2 separate regions of the Homo sapiens genome follow, and region 1 is linked to region 2. Evidence: promoter capture Hi-C in 16 types of primary human blood cells and fetal thymus (Javierre and others, 2016). All regions are on one chromosome and are shown on one strand. Each heading gives the region's core, a stretch centred on a gene start or on the middle of the fragment in contact. The rest is flanking DNA. Distances are from core to core; before and after follow the strand shown.

Region 1 (6,846 bases), core at 1,492-3,991, 480 kb before region 2:
ATCTCAAATAAGTCTAAGTGCCATGAACGTTCTCTTTCCCGAAAAACAGCAACAATAACAACAACAAAAAGAAGTTTGTTTTAAACTGAGATATTACTTGACAACACGGGGTTGGAGAACATTTCTGTTTCAGGCAGGAACTGTGATATCTTTATCTGTGATGCCCTGAACCATAAACACACAGGTCTTTTCTTTTCTCCTCTTGTTCTCTTCTTTTCTCTCCATTTCCTTCATTTATTATTAATATAAGAATTTTTATTCATTATAATTTCAGCATAAGTTTAAAAGGTCAAAAATTCGCTCGGTGAACTGACTTGATAGTTTTGCGGGTATTTACATTAAAATGCTTTTAAAATGCTTTTCTCTCCCATGTTACTATAGAAACTTCCCTTTAGACCAGACCAGACAGCTGGTCTGCTTTTTGTACTTTTCTTCCCAAAGAAGTGCTTTCCTTTATGAATTGTCCGGGGCAGCTATCATTGATCACATCAGTAATGTCCCATAGCAACAGTTGTGTGGTTTTTTTTAATTATTATTCACTTTCTGCTTATTTTCTTTATGGACAAAGGGTCTACTTTCAAGAAGATAACTGAGCTCTTATTGGCTGGAAAGGAAGAAGCATTCTTTCATTGGTTGGTGTGTATTGCCTTGTCAACCAATAAGAGGATGCCATTTATCCTTTTCTGACTAGCTGAGTGAGCAGGGTACACAGAAGGATTGAATCTGCCTTAGTTCCATCCAGTAGCAAAGGACAGAACTCAGAGTCCTGGACTCAGGATCTGGAATTGACTTTGGCTAATCCAGATTGCACTGACTTGCAAGGATGACATTTTTTACCTACCTATTCGCAGCTTACTTCAACATACCTGCCTTATACATTGTCCTATGGCTTTTTTCCCCCTTCATTTTAGGAGATACTGTGATCATCTTTCCAAGTCAGTGCAGGTTATTGTTACCAGCACACTGAGGGTCCAGAGAATTTTGTGATTTCCCCTAAAAATAGATAATTGGTCCTCATTATTAGAGATTTGGTGAAAACTTTTGGAGATGAAGATGGAAAGCTAGAAGTCGGAAGAACTGCATTGCTTGTGATGCAGAATGGATATCTCAGCTTGTGGATTCACTCTACTCAGCTCTCAGCTTTGGTGTTTTGTGTTTGGTGTTTGGTGTCCTCTTCACTTTGATTTTTATTTGTCTGTTTTTCCACTTTCATTCTTCAGAGCTGCGCTTTTGGCCTGAATTTTCAGTGACAAATAGAAAAGCTGAATGGATGGAGACAATGACTCTTTAATTCAATGTAAGAGCTGACTCATCGCTTCCCAGGAAGACTTGTTGCAGGTAGGTGATGGTTATCCTGGAACTGGAGATTATCCCAGTCCTTTGTTGCACTGGCAATGGGCAGGTCTGTTTATTTTTCTCTTTTTTCCTGCACCAAATAGTCCTACTCAGGGATGCTGGCATTGGTCCCCACTTCCCTAAAAGAGGGGAAGTCAAAGTTCTTTCCCTTTCAGGACAGAAACTCTCTGATAACAGCCCGGAAGAAGTCTTAATGTGAGTACAGACCACTTCAGTCAGTCTTTTTTTGGTTCTTGGCAGGAGGGGATACTGGGAATGGATAGATGCCTGATCATCACGGTGCTATCAAGAGCCATATTCTTTATTGGCCCCATCTGTGCCAGAGTTCAGCGGTACCATGAGCCCTAGTGCTAGACTATTAGCCCTTCAATATTAGGAGCTATGTCTTGTACCCCTTTGATTCCCTCAAACTCAGTTGTGCTTAAAGTAGGGCTGAACAAATGTTTGAACTAAATCCTACTGGCTAGTATTAAGACAAATAGCTTATCTTCTTCTTTATGAGAATGGTAGCTCTAGACCTGGACCCTCCCCCTCCAAATCAAAAGCTTCATATTCCCTAGCCCTCTTCACAAAAGATAAATTAAGGCTCAGTTAATTGTTACCATGGTAACATGGAGTGGCCACATTGAGGATCCCCATCATCCATTACTGTCATGAGGTAAAAGAGAGGAGGGGTTTGGGATCATTGTCATGGAGGAAACCATGGAAACAAGCGTTGCTAAGGGAACAGCTCTAAATTCAGAGGAAAGAAATTAGAAGTGGGGAGTGGAAGTTGGTGGGCTCAAGGGCAGGTCATTTTTTCAAAATATATTTCTTTGAGACTACAGCAGCCTCTTTTATTGCTTGCATCTTCTCCCAATTCAGATAGAGCCCAGAATTAAAGAATTTTGAAAACTAGGGCCACAATCAGTTCAAATTCATCTTCATTGGATCTGTAAGGAAAAAGCCAATGAAAATGGATTTACCCTGTTCACACCTCACAATCCTACTCTGTCTCTGAACTCTGCTTCTTTGCCAACCAGTTTCATTTATCACGGGCCAGGCTGTGCGCGAGGCACTTGGAAGAATAATGAGTGAGAGTCCCTGCTCTCATAGTGAGCTTCTAGCAGGGCAGTGGTTTGGGTGGTGGCTTTAGGGCCAGGGTTGCTCATGTAAGCTAGATCAGTCAGTCCTGCAAGCTGACATCCAGAGAGATGCTGTGGTTCTCTCCAAACTCTCTTTGTGGTGCATTTTAGCTTGTCTATTACTTCTCAAAGTTTATTTGCCAGGTCCCTAAGAAAGGCCTGTTTTTCCTAGAAATACCTAGGGTGCTAAGCTCTCCTATTAACCAAGGGGTTACCTTAGTTAGCATTGTTCTCTAATGGTACCCTCAGGTCCTTGTCTCTAAAACAATTCAAGGTTGAAGGACTAACCCTCCTCTCAACAGTGGCAAAGAGGCACGGGGCTATTTTTTTTTTTTTTTTGTAAAAGAAATTAAAGACCACACATCCATCTCTGTTTCTTGATAGATTAAAGGATGGGGAAAGGAGGTCTCAGTTTTCTACAGCTGGGAATTTCAGAGCCAGCACCTCACTGCGGGGTAGACTGAAGAGGGTCATAAAGAGCCTCTGGGGGAGGAACACCTCTCCCTTACATCTTCCACAAAAGAACTTCTTGGTTTTTCTCAGACCCATGGCAGAGATGTGCCCTGTCTCAGGCTGACAGCTGGAAGGGGCTGGGACTCAGAGCTAGGTATTGCCAGTCTTCTCCATGACTCCCCCCACTCCTCCTGCTCCTGAGCGTCTCCATCACCAGGCAAGCCCCCACCCCCATTCTGGATAGAGAGAATAAACCCAAGGATGGAAGGGTGGGCTAAAGAGGAAGTGCTCACAATTAAAAAGAGAAAGAATTAAAAGCAGCACCAATAGGGAAGGGTAATTATCCTTCAGTTGCTGCAGAAATACAATTAGGGCCATGCTCTCTGAGCCGCCAGGATATTGTGGCTTTTGCTAATTAAGGAGCGGATGTGTCCTGCCAGCGCAATTAGAGGCTGGCCCAGGCAGCAGGGGCTTTGCCTCTCCTCCACCAGTGCCACACTGCAAGGGAAATTAACCAGGGAGCCCAGCGCTGTGCCTGCAGGGAGGGGATGACTGGGCCAGGATTCCACCAGCCTCCTGTCCACAACCATTTCCCCTTTTCCTCTTCCTGCTCTGCTTACCCCAGCACCACCACTCTGACTTCATTCTGAAGCTTCCAGGGCTCAGTAACCACAGGAAGAATTTTCACCATGGGCCATGCCCATAGGCTTCCAGAAGGGGGAGGCACCAGTAGAGAGGGGTCACCATTTCCAAGCTCTAGTTTCTCTTCTGCATGGTGGTTCAATGCTTTATGATTAGTAAAGGAAAGAGAGAAATGAGCCACTTGCCTGCTTCTCTTTAAAAATAATTCCCCTGTTTGTAAAGGAAATATGCTCAAATTGGGTGCAGTGGCTCACGTCTATAATCCCAGCACTTTGAGAGGCTGAGGCAGGAGGATCACTTGAGCCCAGGAGTTCAAGACCAGCCTGGGCAATATACTGAGACCTTGTCTTTACTAAAAAAAAAAAAAAAAAAAAAAAAATTAGCTGTAGTCTCAGCTACTAGGGAGGCTGAGGTGGAAGAATCACTTGAACACTCGAGTCTGGAAGGTTGAAGCTGGAGTGAGCTGTGATTGCACCACTGCACTACAGCCTGGGTGACAGAGCAAGACCCTGTCTCACCAAAACAAAACAAAACAACTGTGTCCATTATAGAAAGTAGAACACTCCAGAAAAAAGGGAAAAGTAAGAAAAAATAATTTCTCCAGGGAATTCTGAGGTGAGGAGAGGTGTTCAAAGATGAACTTAGTAATAGGAGCGGAGACAACGCCTCGCCTGAAGGAGCATCCAGACCGCTGACCTGGTGGCGAGGGGAGGGGGGTGGTCCTCGAACGCCTTGCAGAACTGGCCTGGATACAGAGTGGACCGGCTGGCCCCATCTGGAAGACTAGTGATTTTGTTGTTGTCTTACTGCGCTCAACAACAAATCCCAGTCTACCTAATGGTGCCAGCCATCGCAGCGGGGTGCAGGAAATGGGGGCAGCCCCCCTTTTTGGCTATCCTTCCACGTGTTCTTTTTTGTATCTTTTGTGTTTCCTAGAAAACATCTCAGGTCACCACCCTAAACACCCATCGGCAGACTCTTCCAGAAACATGGACAAACTATGGTGTGAGCAGGGAAGTGGGGCAGGGTCTCTGTTTTCAGGGAGCAGTGGACTGCTTCCATACCACTACCTGAAGGGCAGGGGGAGAAAAACCCTCCTTAATTACTAATTCCCCCAACAATCACTTTGGGGCACCTATAATGGAGGCACCTTGTGACTCCACATCCTGGGGCTCAGGGCCTCATTGTCTGTGGCCCGACAGCCACAGTGTATGCGGGCACCGAGAGGTATGCACTGGAGACCGAGGTTCCCGGATGTTCAGTGTACCTGGCAGCAGGGGGGACACACCTGACCTCGGAGCTTGTCTGGTGCCTGCTCCACAGCTGAGGGAGTGGACTTGTGTGTATGGAATTTCTTGGTCCCAGTACCTGCCTCTGTGCTGCTACATCCAGAGGTGTGGCCAAGGGAAAAAAGCCCAGTGCTTGGGGACCATCCCCCACTGTGGCAGGAATACAATTAGAATTAGTGATCAGAAAAAGCATTTCCCAGCCTTTTATTTATTTATTTATTTATTTATTTATTTATTTATTTATTTATTTTTGAGACAGAGTCTCACTCTGTCCCAGGCTGGAGTGCAGTGGTACAGTCCTGACTCACTGCAACCTCCACCTCCTGGGTTCAAGTGATTCTTGTGCCTCAGCCTCCCGACTAGCTGGGATTACAGGTGAATGCCACCAACTCAGCTAATTTTTTGTATTTTTGGTAGAGAGAGGGGTTTGCTATGTTGGTCAGGCTGGTCTCGAACTCGTGACGTCAGGGGATCTGCCCACCTCGGTCTCCCAAAGTGCTGGGAGTATAGGCATCAGCCACCTTGCCTGGCCTCCCAGCCTTTCTGCCTGGGATCCCTCTGCCTGGGGGGTACCTTGCCCTAAGGTGAGCACCAAGTTACAGTGATGACACTTTCAGTGGAGATTAATTTTCAAGCAACAAATCCAAATGCCCTCCCTATTCCTAAGTATATTCCCACCCTCCTCCATCCATACAGCAGAGGAGACTAAAGCATATTACAAACTAAAGTTGGGGGTTGGGGATCGTACTCATTTAGGGAATGCTAAAAATGCAACCATTAGCTGAGCTCATTCTACCTCTTCCGGTTGCTAGCTGTGTGACCTCTGGCAAGGCACTTGACCTCTCTGAACCAAGTCAGCCCTTCACTTCTACCCAGAGACTTTGGCTGCCTCTGCTTCTGCTGCTCCCTATCCTACAAACTGGCTCTCTTCTTCTGCACTTCCAGTCTTAAATTTCCCTTTACTCCTAACCCTGCCTGAAGCCAGTGGGAAGCCAGTCCTATTAGAAATCTCATTTACACTTCAGAAGTCTGCAAATTGGTGTCACTCAGCAGGTATCTGTCCTTCACAGCGGGAGAGAAGCCCAGATTGGGCAGGAAGGGCAGAGCTGGAGAACAGGAGAGGAGGGGAGTTGAGTCTCTCCTGGGCAGCCCTCAGCCTCTGGGGCTGGTTTGGAGATGGAACGGGGAGAGATTGTGTCTCAGTGAAACAAGCATCTCGGGGGGGGATGTGGGGTGCATTCCTGATTTGAGGGATGGATATGACAGCCTTTGTTAAGTGGTGGGGGGAGTCCTGGCTCTGAAGTCAAACATGTGCCAGTTTCAATCTTGGCTCCACTGCTTACGAGCTGTGTGACTTTGAGTCAGTCACTTAACATCTCTGAGTCTCAGATTCCTCAACTGTGAAACAGAATTGATCACATCTACCTTGCTAGGTTATTACGATAAGTAGGCAAGTGAAGTGTCATAATATAAAATAGCATGGGTATATACCCAATATTGGTCTCTTCTGCCTTTTCTTTCATAGTTTTCATGGTTGTCCTCTTCACCAGCCTTGTGCACCCACAAATCTGCCATCCTGAAATAGGAAAAAATGGAAACCACCATCTTTCTATTAGTCTCCCCTATCATGTAGGAATTTAATCCTATTTAAATATGTATCCTTCCCCTTCCAGATCAGTATCTTGCCCATTTCAGGGGACTCAATATATATTGAAAGAATGAATATAGACCAAGTCCCTCCCCACTTTAAAAATGCTGAAATCAGGGCCTGCAGAGGTTGTGACTTATCTCTTGGTCACTCAGCAAAATAGACAATTTACTACTGTTTTTATTTATTTATTTATTTATTGAAATGGGGTCTGGCTTTGTCACCCAGTCTAGAGTGCAGTGGTGTGATCTCGGCTCAATGCAACCCCAACCTCCTGGGCTCAAGCAATTCTCCTCCCTCAGCCTCCCGATCAGATGAGACTACAGACACCCAC
Region 2 (6,830 bases), core at 2,958-5,457:
TGTGTATATAGGAACTGTCTGTACTTTCCACTTAATTTTGTTATAAACCTAAAACTATTTATTTATTTAGAGACAGAGTCTCCCTCTGTTGCCCAGGCTGGAGTGCAGTGGTACGATCTTGGTTCACTGCATCCGCCGCCTCCTAGGTTCAAGCGATTCTCCTGCCTCAGCCTCCCAAGTAGCTGGGATTACAGGCACACGTCACCACACCCAGCTAATTTTTGTATTTTTAGTAGAGACGGTGTTTCGCCAATTGACCAGACTGGTCTCAAACTCCTGGCTTCAAGTGATCCGCCCACCTCAGCCTCCCAAAGTGTTGGGATTACAGGCATGAGCCACGGCGCCTGGCCCTAAAACTGCTTTAAAAAATAAAGTCTATCTATATTTTCTAAAAATCCTGAATCCTGTGATCACTACTTCTGAGGGCTAGAACTTAGAAAATGAGTGAGGACCTTAGAGGAAGGTTCTGAAATGGGCTCCTATAATAGCTGTGGCAAACATTTATTAAACATTTTTAGGTATTTGCCAGGTACTGTTTGATGCACTTTGCATCTGTGAACTCATCTGCCACTCAAAGGACCCCATGAGACAAGCACTTCACTGTCCTCTGCGTTTTACAGAAGAAAGTAGGGCACAGAGATGTGCTGTACTCGCCCAAGGTCACAAGGCTAGGAAGGATGGAATCAGGATCCAATCCCCAGCAGTAGAGCTTCCAAATCCCCTTTCTCTGAACCATCCCCCGAGGACACAGAATAACAAAAATGACAAACTGAGTGAATTGCTGATTTTCCTTAAAAGAATAAATAGAACATATTATCTGCTCCAACCACTGCTCCCTGCTGTCTCCCAGAGTACCTTGACTTTCTCAGGTTAGTAAATCCTGCAGAGGCCCCAGTTGAGTTAGAAGCAGTTCTGCTTTAATGAAGTCCTGCAGCTTTGGCCATCCCAGAAGGTGACTGGGGCATACCCTCTCCCTTGTTCTTTTTTATTACAAGGTACTGTCACGGTTTTGAAAATTCACTTTACAGCCACATCCCAACACCTGCTTATCTCAGGCCAAGGCTCACCAAATCCTCAATCCCAACGGGCCACTAAACTTGAAGGCAAAAATAAGTCCATTTTGTCTCCTAAATGGCCTCCCTCAGAAATGATTTATAGAATGAAATAATATGATTAAACAGAATATGGCAAGACTGCAAGCAGAAGGGAGGAAACAGAAACCAGAGACAATTAAGGAAACAGTTCTGTGTGCTGGGAAATGATAATGGATCATTCTTTAAGCCTGCCAGAGCTGCAGAGAAGATGCCCGGATCCTTTTACTCTTCCTCCTCTTCCTGAGCTCAGTCTGTGCCTCTTTTTGAGCCTCTGTGACATAATTGTGTTTTAGAATTCCTGAACTGGAAAGATGTCCTTTTCTGGAACTGGTGGCTGAACCTATGTTCCTGAGATGGGAGAAAAAAGCCATTTACACAATGGCGAGCCCATCTGCAATCTACTCCTAACAGCTGCTTTTTGTGGCTCTGAATCAAGTTGGAGAAATCATCCTGGATCTCAGGAGCCACTTCATGCTTTTCAGGGCCTAACAAGACATCTCACTTTCCCTTAGCAAACACAGGCAGAAGCAAACCTGTATTGGGCTGGGCCTATTTCCGTAACATGCATGCAGCCATGTGTATGGCTACCAAGCAGCACTGTTTAAAGACAAGAACCAGAAAACTGTGGATCAGAACCAAATGTGTACATAGATATGTGTACACACCCCTCCAAAACTAGTGACAAATCTTTTTTGTTTTTTTTTTTCTGAGACAGAGTCTCACTCTGTCATCCAAGCTGGAATGCAGTGGTGCAATCTCACTGCAGCCTCTGCTTCCTGGGTTCAAACGATTATCCTGCCTCAGCCTCCTGAGTAGCTGGGATTACAGGTGTGTGCCACCATGCCCAGCTAATTTTGTATTTTTAGTAGAGATGGGGTTTCACCATGATGGCCAGGCTGGTCTGGAACTGCTGACCTCAGGTGATCCTCCTGCCTTGGCCTCCCAAAGTGCTGGGATTACAGGCTTGAGCCACTGTGCCCAGCCTATTTTTTAAATTATTATTAATTTTTAATTGACAAAATTTGTATATATTTATGATGTACAACATGCTTTACTTATTTATGTTTATCATGTTATTATGTTTATTTGTCAAACAAGGTCTCACTCTGTGGCCCAGGCTGGAGTGCAGTGGTGCGATCACAGCTCACTGCAGCCTCAACTTCCTGGGCTCAAACAACCCTCCTGCCTCAGCCTCCCCACTAGCTGGGACTACAGGCATGCACCACCACATCAGGCTAAATTTTAAATTTTTTGTAGAGACGGGGTCTCACTATGTTGCCCAGGTTGGTCTCAGACTCCTGGGCTCCGCCTCAGCTTCCCAAAATGTTGGATTACAGGCGTGAGCCACTGTACCGGTCCATGTTTTGATACATGTATACATTGTGGGATAGCTACACCAAGCTAGTTAACATATGCATTACCTTATATACTTATCTAGTGATAATCTAAAGCTCTTTTTTGGAAGTCCAAACTGTTTTAACTCAGAGTCAGGACGATGGGGTTCATCACTAAGAGACTTTGCTACTGAAGCCTGGGTTTTTCTTTTCCAAGATGAAAGAGAATACAGAGGAATATATAAACACTGAGATGAAACCTTTTTTTTTCAAGGTAACATGACAACTGAATGAAAAATAGAGCAATGGCAAAGGATTCTTTCTTCTCCTTCACTCTGATGTACCATGGCTGTGAGTTCTTTCAAAGACAGACACAAAGGGTCTGGGGCTACATTCAGGCCTGAGAAGCTATTTCTGTCCACACTCTGTGATGTCTACACCTTCAGAATGGGGAATGGGTTTCAGGGGTCTCTGACAGATAGAGCTCATGCAATGATTTCTGGTCCGGTGCTGATCAGCCTTCAAAGGATGTTATTTGGTTACGCTCCATAAAACTTGAGCCAGCCCACTGTTCCTTGTCACAACCTGAAATATGTTGGGAAAAATTTACATGGTAACAAATGCCACTTCCCTTCTCTGACTAAATCGCTCCTCTCATTTCATCCCCTGCTCCCTCTCTCCGAGCCCTATGGGGCCTTGGTAGGGTGGCCTTGTCTGCCCTACAGGGGTTGCATTTCAAGTCGCTCAAGTGTTCTATTCTTGGTACACGACATGCCATTGCAAAAGCAGTTTCAGGCTCATAGAATTTTAGAAATGGGCCTAGTTTCCCAGCCGGATGAGGTGAGTGGGTGATGGGGGAAGAATCAGCCTTGATTGAATGCCTGTTGAGTGCCAGCCACTGTTGGCATTTATCAGAGTTTATTTAATCTTCTCATCAACTACTATTGTTACCCTCAGTTGCCAAGTGAAGGGAGCATGCGGGAAGGTTAAGTGACTTGCCCAAGCCCACACAACCGGTAGGAGCCCCAATTCCAGGCCCTAGTTCCAAGGCTACATTCTTCCAGGCGGCCTCCAACTGGGTTGGTTAAGGGTTGAAAGGACAGTGGGACAATAACTGAGGCCCGTATTGCCCAGAGCGTCCCCATCCCCCGTCCGGAGCTGGAAGAGGCCATAGACCGCTGCCTCCACATCTTTTCCTCTCCTTCGGGTTCGGTGACTCACGACCCTTCTTCCTCTCTCCCGGGATATGACCTCAAATTTCACCCCTGCGAAATTTGAGTACACGTGAGTCAGTCAGTCGGCCTGGACCCATAAGAGCCCCAGCTGAGCTACCAGCAGCTGAGCTACCAGCCGACCTCATTCCTCTGAGCCCAGTCGACAGCTGACCTTACCCAGCCCTCTAAAGCAGTTTGCGGTCACAATTACCCGTCTCTTCACCCCGCCCCCATCGACATCAAACACGACCCACCTTCTAGCCCTCCTCCCCTTTCCCCGCCCACTCCGGGCTGGCCTTATCCAGTAGCGTCTGGGTCCCTGGACTAAAGCCGTCAAATGTAACCAATTGCTGAGGAGCTCTCCCCTAAGAATCCCGCCTCCACTCTGAGGAACAGCTTCGCTGATCAATGGATCCCCTCCTAGACGCAATGAGCGCGCGGGGCAAGTGGAGAAGCGGCTGAACTGCCCAATGAACAAGCGGTTTCCGTGGTTAGGGGCGTGGCAGAAGCGGTCGTCAGGGGCGTGGCGGCAGTTACTTGGGCGGGGCCGGTAGCGGCGGGAGCTGCACTGGCCAGGGGTTCCGGCTGTATATCCATGAGCGCCGCTGGCAGCCGGGGAGCTGCAGGAACCAGACTGGGGGCGAGCTGAGCACCTGTAGTCAATCACACGCAGGTAAAGCCACGGCCGAGCGAGCTCCGCGGAGCGGGGATCGCACCCCGGACCCGTCGAACCGAATCTCCGAGCCCCGAGGTCCCCGGCGTAGCTCGGCCCATCACGCCGCAGCCTGAGGGGATCCTGGGGGGCCTGTCATCTGGCGCCGTGGGGGTCCCAGGGGCTGGCTTGCCCAGTGGTGGGGACAGCCCAGATCGCGGCGGGGGATACGCCTTCCTGAGGCCCTTTGTCCCCTTCTGCCCGAGGAACCGAGGTTGGGGACAACCCCGACCGCGGCCTTTCCCCCATTGGTGCTCACTCCTGGGTCTTCAGGGGCCTGGGGAGGGGTCTGCCGGTTCAGGCTCGGCGAAGAAGGTCCGGGATCCGCACCTGGAAGGAGAGGGCCGAGGGGCCTGATTACAGCCCGAGATACCCGAGAGGCCTCTGTGTTTCGGGGCTCCAGGGGCTCACGCAGGACCAGTGGGTTTAAGTTCTAGAAAGGCAGCTTTTGACCCACTTGGAAGCACATTTACCGAGTTCGGCCCCGCGACCGGCACTGTTCTAGGCCCTTCGTGAGCTTTTCCCACAGCTAGAGCTGTCCAGCAGCGCAGGAGGCTGCCTGCCAGGCCGGGCAGCTAGCGCCTCGACCTTGGCGATGTCCAAGCAGTGGCCTGATGACAGCCACCTGTGTCGGATGCTTAGGACTCCCAAGGGAGGACTGCATGACCCATCTGTAAGGGCCTTCTCTACCCACAAATGCACTCTAAGTGGCCTTTGATGCCTAGCTTGAGAAGAGTACTTCTGGGGGTCCATTAGGTTCCAAGTGGCTGTTGAATTCACCCATAATGAATTTTGAGGTTTCAGCTCTCAAGAGTGGGTGTTAGCAAAGAGACTGGATTATACAAAAAGATAGAGGTTTATTTAGCCACTGTGAAACTCCTTGTATTTGAACTACCATGGACCGCTCTCTTAATCTTCCCAATCTCTCTTTTTTGGTTGCTGGACCTCCAGTTTGTCAGTTTCACCTGCATTCCAGTAACCAAATCCAAAGGCATGTTCCAAGAACAGGCTCCACAGAGGGACCTGGAGAGACTGCAGGTTTGGCAGAGTCAACAAGATCTGTGCCCAGAGCTTTTCGAAGGCCGTTTCCTTACAGCCACATTAAGCAGAGTCCAAAAGAGAAATCCTTCACTACCCTCTGTCATTTGCCGGAATAGAGAGAACATAATAATCTAAAGGTCAGGAGGCAGAGAAAGAATCTTAACACACCTTGCTGTGTGTTTTAGGATGAATTAATCTTTGAACATCTAGTCAGAAAGCAGTCCATATACAGCTGGTAGTCAGCACGGACTGTGACATTTTAGAGCTGAAGGCACCTTAGATAGAGCTCATCTCTATCTAAGTCTAATTAGGTGGACTCTCATTCAGTCTCCTCAATGCACAGGTGAGGAAACTGAGGCCTGGGGTGGTCACAGGGCTGGTTGGTCATCACAGGCCCATGACTAAGGGTTGATCTCTTGACTGTATTTAGATCTAGCCAGTGCATGACTTATTTCACTCCAAGCTTAGTTTGCCCATTCTCAGTGTTTTAAGTTCTAGGGGAGTCCAGAGAGGTTAGGAGGACAGATTTTGGTGCCTGAGTGCCTGGATTTGAATCCCAGCCCTGCCTCTTACTGGCTGTACAACCTTGGGCAAGCTACTTAACTTCTCTGTGCCTCTGTTTCCTCACCTCTAAAACAGAAATAATAATGATACTTATGTTAGAAGATTGTTTTGAGAAGTGCATGGAGTTACTACATCTGAAGCATTTAGAACAGTACCTGGCACAGGGTAAGCACAATAGATTTGCTAGATATGATATTCTGTTGCCTTTTTGTACATTTTTCTTCATATCCACCACCCAATACTCTATCAAGAGCTAATTTTTCCCCCAGTCCCCTTCCCCCCACCCCCAAATTCATTTAACATATTCCAGATTTCATTTTAACACAGACAGCTGCAAGGGGTTTCCAAGTCACGTTGCATTTTATACCTTACTTATTTTTGTGATTCAGGTAATTTAGTTTCTATGTTAGTTCCCCCTTGCAGTTACATTCTTCTTAGGCTCTGAACCCTTTAAAATTATCGTTAAAAGCAGGCAGTGAGGGGTGGGAATCCCTCGAAATGGTAAAGTCCTGGATGATACCCGTGTCCATGGTGTCCTTCCAAATATGTATTCCCTCTCTTCAGCCCTCCTCCCAAGCGATGAGTGTGATGCAGCTTGATTCTAAATGGATGAACATTTTTAGATTAAGATTTTATGAGCCACTGTATTAAGTGCTTTTCGGAAGTTCAGGGATCATGTGTCAACTGCATTTAAGGAAGTTACTTAGTCATTCGAATAGGGGGAGCACCAGCAGCGCCTGCCTGGCCTGGCAGAAGCAAAAGTGTGTGACTGATCCGTGCTGGCAATCTAGCTGGTTCACTGGTTTATCTGTGTTTTTCCTGTTCTTTTCCAAAGCTTGAAATAAACCAGATGGCAAGTACAAGGGAATGG

What was found. Contacts are between HindIII fragments. The CHiCAGO score rates a contact against its expected background, and 5 or more counts as called.
Region 1: a fragment that was not itself captured here is called in contact with the fragment with the promoter of ABHD2 in region 2 in 3 of 17 cell types (total B cells, total CD8 T cells and naive B cells); the score reaches 5.8 in total B cells.

Annotation. Positions count from the first base shown.
Region 1 is chr15:88,607,505-88,614,350 of GRCh38, forward strand. It overlaps MIR1179 (microRNA 1179), which reads left to right and starts at 603; the gene lies at 603-693. MIR7-2 (microRNA 7-2) reads left to right here and starts at 4,321; the gene lies at 4,321-4,430. It overlaps MIR3529 (microRNA 3529), which reads right to left and starts at 4,420; the gene lies at 4,343-4,420. It also overlaps a transcript of AEN not described here. RefSeq lists an enhancer at 5,530-6,214. The HindIII fragment of the contact is 1,684 bases long and covers 1,900-3,583 here.
Region 2 is chr15:89,084,249-89,091,078 of GRCh38, forward strand. ABHD2 (abhydrolase domain containing 2, acylglycerol lipase) reads left to right here and starts at 4,208. Exons shown (of 11, transcript NM_152924.5): 1 at 4,208-4,315. LOC124903573 reads right to left here. Exons shown (of 7, transcript XM_047433432.1): 5 at 4,587-4,684; 6 at 3,820-4,438; 7 at 3,313-3,693. The coding sequence ends at 3,479. RefSeq lists enhancers at 2,971-3,616, 4,227-4,406, 4,348-4,867. The HindIII fragment of the contact is 11,698 bases long and covers 1-5,856 here.